2 separate regions of the Homo sapiens genome follow, and region 2 is linked to region 1. Evidence: promoter capture Hi-C in human tissues and cell types (Jung and others, 2019). All regions are on one chromosome and are shown on one strand. Each heading gives the region's core, a stretch centred on a gene start or on the middle of the fragment in contact. The rest is flanking DNA. Distances are from core to core; before and after follow the strand shown.

Region 1 (6,618 bases), core at 3,411-5,910:
CCCCAGCCCGCGAGGAGCCCCCGAAGCCCCCTTCTGGGCTGAGTTTCCCACCAGGACGAGGGGAGGGCTGGGGGAGCGGGAGCAGCCACCCGCGAAGGCCCGGGCCCCGCTACCTGCCCTGACCCCCTGCCCTGCCCCCGCTCTGGGGCCGCGTCTCCTCCCCTCACTCCCCAAGGGGAGGGGCCAGTGTCCCCGGGCCCGGGATCAAAGACACTGCGGGAGCTCGACACGAGGGAGGAGGAGGGGGCCGGAATGCAGGCCGCAGGGTCTGGGACACCTGCTCTGGGGACAGGGGCGGAGCCGGCCGACACCTGCGCCAGAGCCGCGGAGCACCTGAAGCCTTCGCCTCACTCCCCCACTCTCAGTCCAGGTGGCCCGGCCGGGCCCTGCCGGCGCCGCCAGGACAAAGCGCCCTTGTGAAGGCCGCCTCCCGCCCGGGAGCTGGCGAGGGGCCCCAGACGCGGGCGGCCTAGGCTGCCTGGGCAGGGCCGGGGATCCCCACTCTTGTCCAGATCGTCGTGATTGTGCCCGGGCGCACCGGCCTGGAGCTCGTCTTTCCTCCCTCTCCCCCGCGCACCCCATAGCAGGCCAGGGAATGGGTGGGGGGCGCTCTGGACCCTAAACCAGCACAGCGTGCCAGGCCCTGTGCTAAGGATTTAATCACCCTCGATTAATCCCATGATGCGGGCTAATTCTCCCCCGGAGAGTTTAAGTGACCTGTTAGACAAGAACACCCTCCGGCCCCTCCCGTCTCAAGCGGCCCCACTCCGTTCCCCAGGCTCTGCGCTGCAGAAGCAGCTTTCTTGCTCCTCCTCCGGAAGGGTCTCCCGCCCCAGGACTTGCCCTTGACGTTCCTTCTGGCAGCGGAGCCTCCCAGGGCTGGCTAGCACTCATGGAAAGTTGAAGTTGTTTGCTTGTTTATTGCAGGTCTCCCTCCCAGAATGTAAGCTGCTCACCGGACTGGAACCTTGTCTGTCCAGTCCCCAGTGCCCAACCAGGGCCTGCACATACCAAGTGCTCAATACCTGTTGAAAGTGGATTGGAATGAGAATCTCCCCTCCCATGACCTGGAAAGGGGGCTCAGGCTGTGTCATTTGCCCAACTTCTGGCTGCAAAAAGTGAGGCAAACTCAAAAGAAGCTGTGGAAAGCAGCCCAACCTGAGACCCCCTTTCTCTGGGAGATGGGGAAGGTCAGGCTTTGGGTCTCTGGAGGGCAGGGATAATGGTTGCTATGGAGACTGATGGTGGCTCCTTGTGCACCCAGAAATTGAGAAGGGCCATGCACTGGCCACTCAGGCGTCTGGAGCTTGAGCCTCCAGCCTCCCTGATCTTCATCTGTAGCCTAAAGCTGGGGTGGGGAAATGTGATTCCCTCTCCAGGACCCTCAACAGAGACGGTTTGTGGGGGTTAAACATGTGAGACCAGGCCAGAACAGTGGCTTATGCCTGTAATCCCAGCACTTTGGAAGGCCAAGGCAGGTGGATTGCTTGAGCCCAGGAATTTGAGACTAGCCTGCTCAATGCGGCCAAACTGTATGACTGCAAAAAATACAAAAATTGCTGGGCGTGGTGGCATGTGCCTAGTACTTGGGAGGCTGAGGTAGGAGGACTACCTGAACCCAGGAGGTCAAGCCTGCTGTGAGTTGTAATCACACCACTGCACTCCAGCCTGGGTGACAGAGTGAGACCTTGTCTCTAAAAACAAACAAACACCATATGGGATCCATAGTTGGGTGCTGGCCCAGGATGAGTCTTCAATAAAGGGGCTGGGGGAGTCAGTGCAGGAAGCTGGGTCTGCAGATCTCACTGTAGTCACTCACAATGTTGGCCCTTCTTCTGGCTCAACCTCACCACTCAGGGAAACTGAAGTGCTGAGATACCTGCTAGGCCCCCAAGGGGTTGTTCTGGGGGCGTGGAGGGAGAAAGAGGGACACGTATGGGCATATAAACAGGTGCTGTTCCTCTTGGCCTAAGACCCATTTTGACCCAGCTCTGCCCAGGACTTTGCTGTGTGACCCTATTAGACGAGTGAGGCTCCATCTCTGGGCCTCTGGTACTCTCGTAGGTAAATGTTGGACTGGTCTACCTCTCTTCCCCTGTGACTTGGGGCAAACTGAAGGAGAGAGGATACGGCTCAATCTGCCCAAAGGTCCTTCCAGCCCAACAAAGACGGCCAAGCCCAGGCAGGGGGCCAGGGAGCAGGGGAGGGGCCTCCTGCACACACCGCAACTCTTTGTCTCTGGGCCCTAATCCGGCCTGGGATCTAGAGAGGAAATTCAGGCAGCCCTGCTGCTGCCAAGCTGGCTAGACCCATGCTCCCCTTCCCAGTTCTGCAGGGAGGGAGAAGAAACTGGTTCCAGCCCAAGCCCCTTCCTATTCTGTCCTGGGGAGTCTGCCCCTCTCCCCTCCACACCTTGCTCTCAGAATCAGGACCTCCAGCCCAAGGAGTGCTGAAGAACCTCAAATTCTCTCTCTGTACCCTCTCCACAGCTGCAGAGGGAGGGCTGGAGGAGTGGCCAAACTGGAGGTTTGAGGAACAAGTTCACTAAGGTGTTGGTGCACAGCAGGGCCCTGCAGGGCTCAGTGGCTCACACCTATAATCCCAGCACTTTAGGAGGCTGAGGTAAGCGGATCACCTGAGGTCAGAAGTTCGAGACCAGCCTGGCCAACATGGCGAAACCTCGTCTCTACTAAAAATACAAAAATTAGTCAGGCGTGGTGGCGGGCGCCTGTAGGCCCAGCTAATCGGGAGGCTGAGGCAGGAGAATTGCTTGAACCTGGGAGGCAAAGTTTGCAGTGAGCTGAGATTGCACCATTGCACTCCAGCCTGGGCGACAGTGAGACTCCGTCTCAAAAACAAACAAACAAACAAACAAAAAACAAGGTGGGGCAGAGGAAGGGAGAAGGAGCCTCACCTTGAGGGCCCTGAGCCTAGGTCCTAATCCCAGTTGCTAACTGGCCTTATGACCAAGGAGCCTCAACATGTCACAGCTTTTGTGGGCTGTGGGCAGTAGGAGAGAGGGCACTGCCACTGGAGACCTGCGCTGTGGCCTCTTTGGCCAGTGCCTTGCTGTGCCATGTGGGACAAATCCTTTCCCCTCCTTATTGGGCCCTAATTTCCCATCTGTGAACAGTTCATAGCAACTTGGGGCTGCTGGGAGGAGGGCAAGCAAGCCTGGAACCCAGAGCGTGGCCAGAAATGATGTCGACGATGCCCATGACCACCTCCTCTGTTCTCCAAGACCTTTGCCTCTCCTCAGGCCCCTGGTCACCTTTCCCTGGGTCTTCGTTCTTTGATGTGAGAAGAGGGCAGCTTTAATCCCCCACCTGATAGAGAAGAAAACTAAGCTGTGGAGTAGGGTGGAGTGAGGGAGTGGAAGGAAGGTTGTGGTTTCCTGGTGAGGTGTGATGCTTAGACCTGGTCTCTAAAAATAAAATTAAAGTTAAAAAAAATGAATTAAAAAAAACCGCCTAGTCTCTGAGGTCAGAAAAGACCAACACTCAAATTTTGGCTGGGCGTTCTTAAAAGGATGCTTTCTTCATCTGGAGATATCTGGTGGAGAGGATTAGGTAAAATAATGTATTACTATTCTCAGGGTACCATAAATCCGCTGGCCCGCTCCCTCAGGCCACTGGCCCACGGCTCCACCCATGTCACGCCCCTTTCCCCGCAGCCAATCAGCGCTACCTCCCCAGAGCGCCCGTTCCCTCCACCACTCGCCGCAGATCTCCCGGTGCCACCCGTTCCAGGGAGGCTGCTTGGTTTGGGAAGATACTCCCCAGGGGTCTCCCCTTCCCTTGGGGGCGCAGCTGAGGACTGCGAGGTGCGTCCGAGGGCCAGAAAGCTGAGATCGATTCTGAGTTCAAGGATCAAGTCTGCCCTCAAACCATTTTACAGATCGGGAAATCCGAGACCCAGAGAAGGGATACTCCCGCCCAAGGGCCACCGAGCCGAGAGAAGCCCGGGCCAGGGCTTTCTTCGCGTATGTGGGAATGCAGGCGCGAGCCCTTTGGGGGGCACAGTCCATACGGGAGCTGAGGCCGAAGCCGGAGCACTAACTGTGCTGTCTAGGGGATCGAGACGGCACTAGAGGGCTGGACTCCTTACTGCCTCAGTTTCCCCAGCACTACCTTTGTTGAGGAAACGGAGATGGGGATACTGGCCGAACGCGCGCCTGCTGAGACACAGTGCAACTGTATTTAGACGCCCCGCACCTCCCCAAATCTGATCGAGGCTCCTTTTTTCAAGCACCCGCTATCTCTCAGCCCTTTAAAATCCGGCCCTGCCGTTCGAGTCTCTCGGCGTTCCATTGGAAAGACTCGGGGCTCCAGCTCCCTTCTCTAGAATGAACTGCTCTGACTGCCGCCCGGCTTTACCGGAGCTTTAACTGCGCAGGCGCAAGGGCAGCCAACCCGGTAAACGGAAGAGCTGGGTGCTGACGGCGCTGGGCGGGTCAGGGGCGGAGAGCGTGCTAACCAATGACTTGAGGGAGTAGGGGGCCGGGTTTGGGCCCTCAGTTGCTAAGGGCTACCCGAGTGGGAAGCGGTTCAAGAGATGGGGTGAAGGGTGGTTCACCGGTTCTTCAAGTCCTCAGCCTTCTGGCCCGCGGAAGTTAAGCAACCAAGAGGCGGGCCTAAGACCGGAAGCAGGAAGGAGGGCGCAGGAAGCAGGGCGCCGCAGCCTGTCGTACGGTCCTTCTGTGGGTCTGTCGGTGCCGAGGGCAGGATGGAGAAGCTGCGGCTCCTGGGCCTCCGCTACCAGGAGTACGTGACTCGTCACCCGGCCGCCACGGCCCAGCTGGAGACAGCAGTGCGGGGCTTCAGTTACCTGCTGGCAGGTGCCACCCTGACCTTTGATCAGTTCCTTCTGGGCCCTGACCTATGACCCCAGTGGCCCCCTTCCCTGCGGAGTCAGGGTAGTGATCGCTGTGCTTGAGAAGACCCGTCCAGGTTCCCAAAGGGCGTAGGGAGGGGATTTCCGGGACCCGAAGACGAAATGTGAGGCAGATGCTCACTCACACCTCCTTCTGTACCCTCTCCCCAGGTCGATTCGCCGATTCGCACGAGCTGTCAGAGCTGGGTGAGCCGGGCTCTGGGGGTGGGGGATGGGGGATCGGCTGCCTGGCCCCTGGTGAGTTCCCCAGAGAGGGTGAGCACCCCAGCCCGAGGACCTGGGCTGCCCGTTAGACACCTTGTGCTATGACTGAATCGGCACAAGGTCTGTTGTTCATTGTCCTGGGCCCTCCATGTCCCTAAGTCAAGAGACACGTCTGGGGACCTTATCTGAGTATTCACTACTGGCCAGGCGCTGGACTAAGTGCCTTTCTTACCTTTACTTGTTAATCCTCCCTACAGTCATATTAAGTGGTACTTATTGTCATCACTGTCCATTTAAGGAAGAAGCTCAGTGAGGTTAGAGAACAGTCACTGATGGTCCCAGAACCAAGATTCAAGTCTAGATCTCCCAGATTCCAGGATTCCCAGATTGTAACTACCTCAAGAGTGTTTGCCCAGTGACTGCTGTCACAGTCCTGAAAGAATGCACTGGGTTTTGAAAAGCAGAGGTGAGGCCAGGTGCAGTGGCTCACACTTGTAATCCCAGCACTTTGGGAGGCAGAGGCAGGTGGATCACGTGAGGTCAGGAGTTCGAGACCAGCCTGGCCAACATGGTGAAACCCCATCTCTACTAAAAATACAAAAATTAGCTGGGCATGGTAGCAGGTGCCTGTAGTCCCAGCTACTTGAGAGGCTGAGGCAGGAGAATTGCTTGAACCTGGGAGGCAGAGGTTGCAGTGAGCCGAGATTGTGCCATTGCACTCCAGCCTGGGCAACAAGAGTGAAACTCCGACTCAGAAAAAAGAAAAGTGGAGGTGGAATAGACCCTCAGGAACAGGCTGCCAAGAGAGAAAGGGCCAGGAGGTGGGACCGTGTATCTGTGGCAGTTCAGAGAGCGATGGGCAGTTGTGGGCAGCTGGATGACCAGTGCCATCCAGCAGGGCAGTAACTGGCTTGTCACTGAGATTGACCCATCCTTTCTTGGTCCAGCCACCCTTGTGAGATCATGTTGGGGAGAGGGGAGTGCTGAGGAAGTGGGTGGAGAAGAAGGTTGGTTTCCACATAGTCTGTGGGTGTCTGAGCAGAGCATGTGACAGGTGATCCCTGCAGCTCTGGGGAGAAGGTGAGAGGGATGGAGGCTGCAGAGCCAGCCTCTCAAGGCCACTCTCTACCCCTCAGTGTACTCTGCCTCTAACCTGCTTGTGCTGCTCAATGACGGGATCCTACGGAAGGAGCTTCGGAAAAAGTTGCCTGTGGTGAGAATTCTGCCAAGAACAGGGTGGGAAGCATGGGGACTCAGGAATGAAATAGTAGCAGCTAGCCCATGCGTGCAGCACATGTCTCATGGAGTATGAGACAGGCCTATGTCCATCTGAGCCTCAAACCATCTCATTAGGTGACCTGTAAAGTGTGAGTATTCCCATCTTAGATGAAGAGACTGTCTCAGGTGAAGAGAGGTAGAGTCAGCTGTTTCAGGTCCCCCAGCCTGTTAATGGTGGAGTTGGTGTTTGAACTCACACCTGCACAGTTAGGCTTGGAAAGGGGAAGGTCCACATCTCTTGTC
Region 2 (6,963 bases), core at 1,574-4,073, 410 kb before region 1:
GAGTGCAGTGGCGTGATCTTGGCTCACTTCAACCTCTACCTTCCGGGTTCAAGCGATTCTCCTGCCTCAGCTTCCTGAGTAGTTGGAATTACAGGCATGCGCCACCAAGCCTGGCTAATTTTTTTTTTTTTTTTTTGTATTTTTAGTAGAGAGAGGGTTTCACTATGTTGGTCAGGCTGGTCTTGAACTCCTGACCTCATGATCCGCCCACCTCAGCCTCCCAAAGTGCTGGGATTACTGGCATGCGCCACCACGCCTGGCCCAAACCACATTTTTAAAAAAGTTCTTTTTTAGAGACTGGGTCTTGCTCTATTGCCCAGCCTGGAGTGCAGTGGTGCAATCACAGCTTGCCGCAGCCTCAGCCTCCTGGGCTCACGTGAGCTTCCTGCTTCAGCCTCCACTCCAGGAGCGAGGACACCCCTGACCATCGCCCCGGGAAGTGCTCTCCTGGTCAGTTTCTGGGCACTCATCTCTCCTGGTTTTCTTTCCTCTCCGACCATCCCTTCTCTGCCCTCTGGTTCACTCCTCTTCCCTCCACTCTTAATGTCTTCTTCCCTGGAGTCCTGCCCTTATCTCACATCCCTTTATGCAGACCCAAGGCTTTCACCTACCACCTGGGCGCTGACAATTTCCTCATCTCTGGCTGGGATCTTTTTCTCCCAAGCCCTATAATTACATGTTAATGTGAATGTTCTACAGGCAACTCAAATGCCAGATGTGCTAAAATGAGTTCTAATCTTTCTCTCCAAACCTGCTCTTCCTCCTGAATCCCTGTCATGGTCAACAGCCTCATCACCCACTCAGGACCTCCAAGTGGGTCATTTCAGGCCCCACCCTTCCTCCAGACCTCACGGCCAATTTGATGTCAGAGCTTGTTGATGATTCCTTCTAATTCTGTCTGGAATCATCTCATCTTCTCCATTCTGCAGAGACTCAGGGCAGGGACGTCTGATTCTTTCACTCTCTGGCTTGAAAGGATGCGGTGGCTCCCACCCCTTCAGGATAAGGTGTTCTTTCTTTAGATCTCTGGAAGGGCCATGGTTTTCCTCAGGGCCAGGATGAGGGTAAACAAGCTGGCACCTAAGGTGTGACGTTTAAGGAGCTTGCCTGCCTGCCTGCCTGCCTGCCTGCCTGCCTTCCTCCCTCCCTCCCTCCCTCCCTCCCTCCCTCCCTTCCTCCCTTCCTTCCTTTCCCTTTCTTTCCCTTTCTTTTCTTTTCTTTCTTGACGGAGTCTCTCTCTGTCACCCAGGCTGGAGTGCAGTGGTCCGATCTCAGCTCACTGCAACCTCTACCTCCTGGGTTCAAGTGATTCTCCTGCCTCAGCCTCCTGAGTAGCTGAGATTACAGGTGTGTGCCACCACGCTTGGCTAGTTTTTTTGTATTTTTAGTAGACATGGGGATTCACCATGTTGGCCAGGCTGGTCTCGAACTCCTGACCTCAAGTGATCCGCCCGCCTTGGCCTCCCAAAGTGGTGGGATTACAGGTGTGAGCCACTATGCTCGGCCAGGAGGTGCCCTTTCTCAGGTCTGTCCAGGTGCCTCCTTGTATTCTGCACCCTGGTTTCCAGATATAACAAAGGGTTTGTTGTGGCAATCCGAGCAGGATGACTGGTGCGGCAGAAGCCATCACATGTGTGTATCAAAGCCCGCTTGCACCACCCTAGTCTTGCTTTTCATGGCTCCATGCCTTTGCATTTGCCATTCTCTCCACTCCAAATGCTCTTACCCCTTCTCTGTCTTACCAACTCCTCCCATCCTTGAAGCCTCGGTTCAAGGGTCACCCTCCTCCCGGCTGCCTTCCCTCACCTCCCCCTCCATCTGAATTACATGATACTCTGTGTCCCTTAATATCCTGTACACCCCTCCATCACAACATCCCCATGGCTGGTTTATTCCCCAACTTCCACCACCGGCCTGGGGCCTTTGAGGTAATGATGGTACATGCCTGCAGTCCCAGCTACTCAGGAAGCTAAGGTGGGAGGATGGCTTCAGACTGGGAAGTGGAGGTTGGAATGAGCCGTAATCATGCCACAGCATTCCAGCCTGGGCGACAGAGTGAGATCCTGTCTCAAAAAAAAAAAAAGTTATCATTAATAATAATAACATTGAGTCCAGGTGCAGTAGTTCGCACCTGTAATCCCAGCACTTTGGGAGGCCGAGGCAGGTGGACCACTTGAGGCCAGGAGTTTGAGACCAGCCTGGCCAACATGGTGAAACCCCATCTCTAATAAAAATACAAAAATTAGCCAGATGTGGTGGTGCACACCTGTAATCCCAGCTACTCTGGAGGCTGAGGCAGGAGAATCGCTGAATATGGGAGGTGGAGGCTGCAATGAGCCATGATTGCACCACTGCACTCTAGCCTGGGCACCAGAGTGAGACTCTGTCTCAAAATAATAATAATAACAGCGTGGGATCCAGAGCCCAGGCTTTAATGGCCTTGCTCTAAAGGCCTACGCTTTCCAGCAGTTAAAACTGATGCCCAGCAGCAGGCAGTGAGGTCTCTGTCACTGTCACTGGAGGTGGTCAAGCCGAAGCTTTGAGGGGAAGGGGCGTGGAGGCCAGTTCTGAGTTTTCATGATTCTGCCTGGCCTCGTCCCACTTTTCTTCTGGTGGGTGGCTGGTGGTAGTGTAGGCACCATCCCACCACCGTGCCCTTGCTTCTGTGTATGAAAGTATCGTGCCTGAGTGATAAAGTCCAAATGCCTTAGCAAGGCATTCGTGACCCCTCTGGATCCGGCCCTGGCTCATCAGTCAGGCTTAATTCTTAGCGTCTCTGGCCTCTACCTTCTGGCTATTGTAAATTATTTGACTTTTCTTTTCTTTTCTTTCAATAGGGACAGGGTCTTGCTATGTTGCCCAGGCTGGTCTCCAACTCCTGGGCTCAAGTGATGTTCCCACCTCGGCCTCCCAAAGTGCTGGGATTACAGGTGCAAGCCACCTCGCCTGGCCTGTTTGACTTTTCTGAAACGTTTCCTGTTCTGTCTCACCTTGAAGTCTTTTGCCCAGGCTGCTGCTTTTTCCTGGCATGCCCCTTTTCCTCTTTTCTGCCTTTTATTAGTATTTTTAGAGTGGGGGGGTTTTGCTCTGTCACCCAAGCTGAAGTGCAGTAGCACGATCATAGCTCACTGCAGCCTTGAACTCCTGGGTTCAAGTGATCCTCCTGCCCCAGCCTCCTGAGTAGCTAGGACAACAGGCATGGGCCATTATTATCATGATTAAAAAAAAAAATTGTGGCCGGGCGTGGTGGCTCACGCCTGTAATCCCAGCACTTTGGGAGGTGGAAATGGGTGGCTCACAAGGTCAAGAGTTGGAGATCATCCTGGCCAACACGGTGAAACCCCGTTTCTACTAAAAATACAAAAATTAGCTGGGCGTGGTGGCGTGTGCCTGTAGTCCCAGCTACTCGGGAGGCTGAGGCAGGAGAATTGCTTGAACCCAGAAGACGGTGGGGGGTTGCAGTGAGCTGAGATCCTGCCACTGCTCTCCAGCCTGGGCAATAGAGCAAGACTCTATCTCAAAAAAAAAAAAAAATTTGCGTAGGGACCAGGGTCTCACTATGTTTTGCCCAGGCTGGCCTTTAACTCCTGGGCTCAAGCAATCCTCTCGCCTTAGCCTCCCAAAGCGCTGGGATTACAGGCATGAGCCACCATGTCTGGCCATTTCCTGCCAATGTCTAACAATCTTTCCTGTCCCCTCCTCCAGAAAGGCTTGGTGCTCAGGTCTGGGTGAGGTCTGTGTGCCTTCCTAGCCCCGCTTGTGAGGCCCTCTGTAGCACATGGTATCAATATTGGCTTTTTTCTTTTCTTTCTTTTCTTTCTTTCTTTCTTTTTTTTTTTTTTCAGACAGAGTCTTCTGTGTCACCCAGGCTGGAGTGCAGTGGCGCAATCTTGGCTTACTGCAACCTCCACCTCCTGGGTTCAAGCAATTTTCCCTGCCTCAGGAGTAGCTGGGATTACAGGCATCTGACACCACGCCCGGCTAATTTCTATATTTTAGTGGAGACAGGGTTTTGCCATGTTGGCCAGGCTGGAACTCATAACCTCAGATGATCCACCCACCTCGGCCTCCCAGGGTGCTTGGGATTACAGGCGTGAGCCACTGCACCCGGTCCCGACATTGCCTCTTAATGCACAGCTGGTGCTTCTTGGAGCTCACTAGTTCTGGGCCCTGTTCTGAGCACTTTAGATGACTTACCTCCTTGAGTCCCCAATACAGCCTTGTTTTACAAATGAAGAAATGGGGGCTCAGAGAGATTCCGGTTACAGAGTGTCTTACTTATGTCCTATGTTGCCTAGCAAATCACTACCACCTGGCAGCTTCAGACAACACACATTCCCTATCTCTGTGTCCATGGCTCACAGTCTGGGTATGGCTTAACAGGGTCCTTCCCTCTGGGTGTCACCAGGCTGCAGCCAGGTATTGTCTAGGCTATGTTTGCATCTGGAGCTTGGGGTCATCTTCCGAGCGTGTTCAGGTTGTTGGCAGAATTTGGTCCTTGCTGCTATGGCACTGGGATCCTCGGCTCCTAGAAACCGCCCCTCCCCTCACAGCATGGCTTTCTGCCCCATGGCCAGCAGGAGGTGCTCTCTCTATTTAGGAAGGCCCAGTCCCTTCCTTCGTGGCTTTCACCTGATTAAGCCAGGCCCACCCAGGATCATCTACCTTTTATTATTTATTTATTTTTTTGAGACAGAGTTTTGCTCTGTCACCCAGGTTGGAGTGCAGTGGCATGATCTCGGCTCACTGCAACCTCCACCTCCCAGGTTCAAGCAATTCTCCTACCTCAGCCTCCCGAGTAGCTGGGATTTTAGGTGTGCACTACAATGCCCACCTAATTTTTGTATTTCTACAAAGAGATGGGGTTTCACCATATTGGCCAGGCTGGTCTGGAACTCCTGACCTCAAGTGATCTGCCCACTTCGGCCTCCCAAAATTCTGGGATTACGGGCATGAGCCACTGCGTGCCCGGCCTCATCTCCCTTTTTAATGAACTCAAAATCATCCGATTTGGGATCTTAATTACATCTGCAAAATCTCTTAACTGTTTCCAGAAAAGATCATCTAATTATGAGCGTGATGGTCTCTCATCTTCGCAGGTCCCCTCCATGTTCTAGGGGAAGGATTCAACAGGGTGTGTACACCAGTGGATGGGAATCTTAGAGGCTATATTAGAATTCTACCTGCCACACACAGCTAGCAAGTGGCAGCTCCAATACTCAAATGCAGCTCTTCTGACTTAGAAGTCTATGCCTTCAATCCAGCTGAGGCAAAGGATACAAGAACTAAGAAACTGGCAGGTCTTAGGAGGACCAAACTGGGTATAGTATGTGAAGTGTCTAGCACAGTGCCTGGACCACAGTGGAGGCTCCATTCTTGCAGTGGCCATCCCCAAAGGCCAAGATGGTGGCTTTGATACTCTGTCTTGATCCTTGGAGCAGCCCTGAGGTGAGTGAATTGCAGCAGATTCTTTGGCTGTTTGGTTTGAATTCTGCACCTGGCTAGAAGAGAAAGCCCAATAGAAATGCCTTCTTGGCCAGGTGCAGTGGCTGACGCCTGTAATCCCAGCACTTTGGGAGGCTGAGGTGGAAGATTGCTTAAGCCCAGGATTTTGAAACCACAGTGAGTTATGATTGCACCACTGGACTCCAACTTGGGCAATAGAGCGAGATCTTGTCATTCATTCATGTACACATACATACATACATGGGGTTCTCCTTAAATAGGCAGATAAAAAACATTTATCTAAACTATCTTCCTAATCCTCAAATAAAAGCATACACATATAAAAGCTATAAATAAAGCCCAAAGACAGAAGAGGAAATAACAAATCAGTCAACAAAATATTGGAAAATAAAAAGTGAACAGGCTGGGCATGGTGGCTCACGCCTGTAATCCCAGCACTGTGGGAGGCCATGGTGGGCAGACTGAGCCCAGGAGTCTGAGACCAGCCTGGGCAACATAGCGAGACCCTACCTCTACAAAAAAAAAAAAATGCCTTCTCATACTCCTATACCCCCACACCCCCTGCCAGAACATAAAATCAACCTACCCTTGTTGTTCCCCTGCCCTTTGGTTCTACTTTCCCTCCCCTCCAATGAAGAAAGGCACAAAGTCAGGAGTTGATGCTGCATCTTTTTTTTTTTTTTTTTGGTTTTGCTTTCTTAAAGCATGTGCTGAGCTGATGAAGAGAGCAGTTTGGCAATTAAAAAGGCCCAGCGGCTTGGGCAGCAGCAGGGGGGTGCCAGGTGAGGGTCAGGTAGTCCCTCTTTCCTGGGCCAGGGAGCAGCAAAGCCCGCACTAACTTCATAAAATATAAAACAAGGGAGGGGCGAAGGGAAGAGGGAGATTTGTAAAATACAATATCTTAGGGGATTGGCAATAATAAAAAATAAGGTTCATTATTTACAAACAATTTCTGTTCTTGGTCTCTGTACAGTGGGGGTGGGGTAAGGGGTGTCTGTGAGTGGGGTGCGTTGATGTGTCTGTTTGGGTGCAGGTGTGGGGGCAGGGAGGCAGTGGTCGTGTTGGGCATATGAGAGAGGAGGTGGGGTACCCAGTGAGTGGTTTGTCTGAGAAGGACGGATGGATGTTGGTGGGAAGGAGAATGAGAACAGAGTGGTCGGCCCAAGGGAAGAGTCCAAATGTCAGGGGCAAGGAAGGGCTGGGAAGTGGAGCCTTTTCTCCTGGAATGGGAAGCTCCAGGAGGCAGGGGCACGAGGCGGATCCGGGTTAGTGAGCAAGAACTCCTCTTCTGGGTACCAGGGGTCCGTCCTATGTCCTGGGTCTTGGCATGGCCTAGGAGAGTTTGATGGTGGTGTTGGGGCCCAGATCCCTGGAGAGAGAAGAGAGGCCAGCGATGACTGTCCAGCAGGAACCCTCTTACCCTCTGCAAGCTGGATCTAGACCAAGTAGGGATGGGGCCTTGGGAGGGTGTGGCCAATGTGGGGACCAAGGGTGGGC

What was found. Contacts are between HindIII fragments. The study calls those that stand out against the background at their distance.
Region 2: a fragment that was not itself captured here is called in contact with the fragment with the promoter of PEX16 in region 1 in 1 of the 25 tissues and cell types used here (dorsolateral prefrontal cortex).

Annotation. Positions count from the first base shown.
Region 1 is chr11:45,915,919-45,922,536 of GRCh38, reverse strand. PEX16 (peroxisomal biogenesis factor 16) reads left to right here and starts at 4,660. Exons shown (of 11, transcript NM_004813.4): 1 at 4,660-4,837; 2 at 5,044-5,079; 3 at 6,234-6,310. The coding sequence starts at 4,726. It also overlaps a transcript of LARGE2 not described here. RefSeq lists enhancers at 4,836-4,905, 4,852-5,604. The HindIII fragment of the contact is 33,493 bases long and covers 1-6,618 here.
Region 2 is chr11:46,320,582-46,327,544 of GRCh38, reverse strand. CREB3L1 (cAMP responsive element binding protein 3 like 1) reads right to left here. Exons shown (of 12, transcript NM_052854.4): 12 at 6,136-6,835. The coding sequence ends at 6,799. Among named protein-coding and RNA genes, the nearest start is that of DGKZ, 23 kb to the left of the region's middle. The HindIII fragment of the contact is 5,989 bases long and covers 1-5,817 here.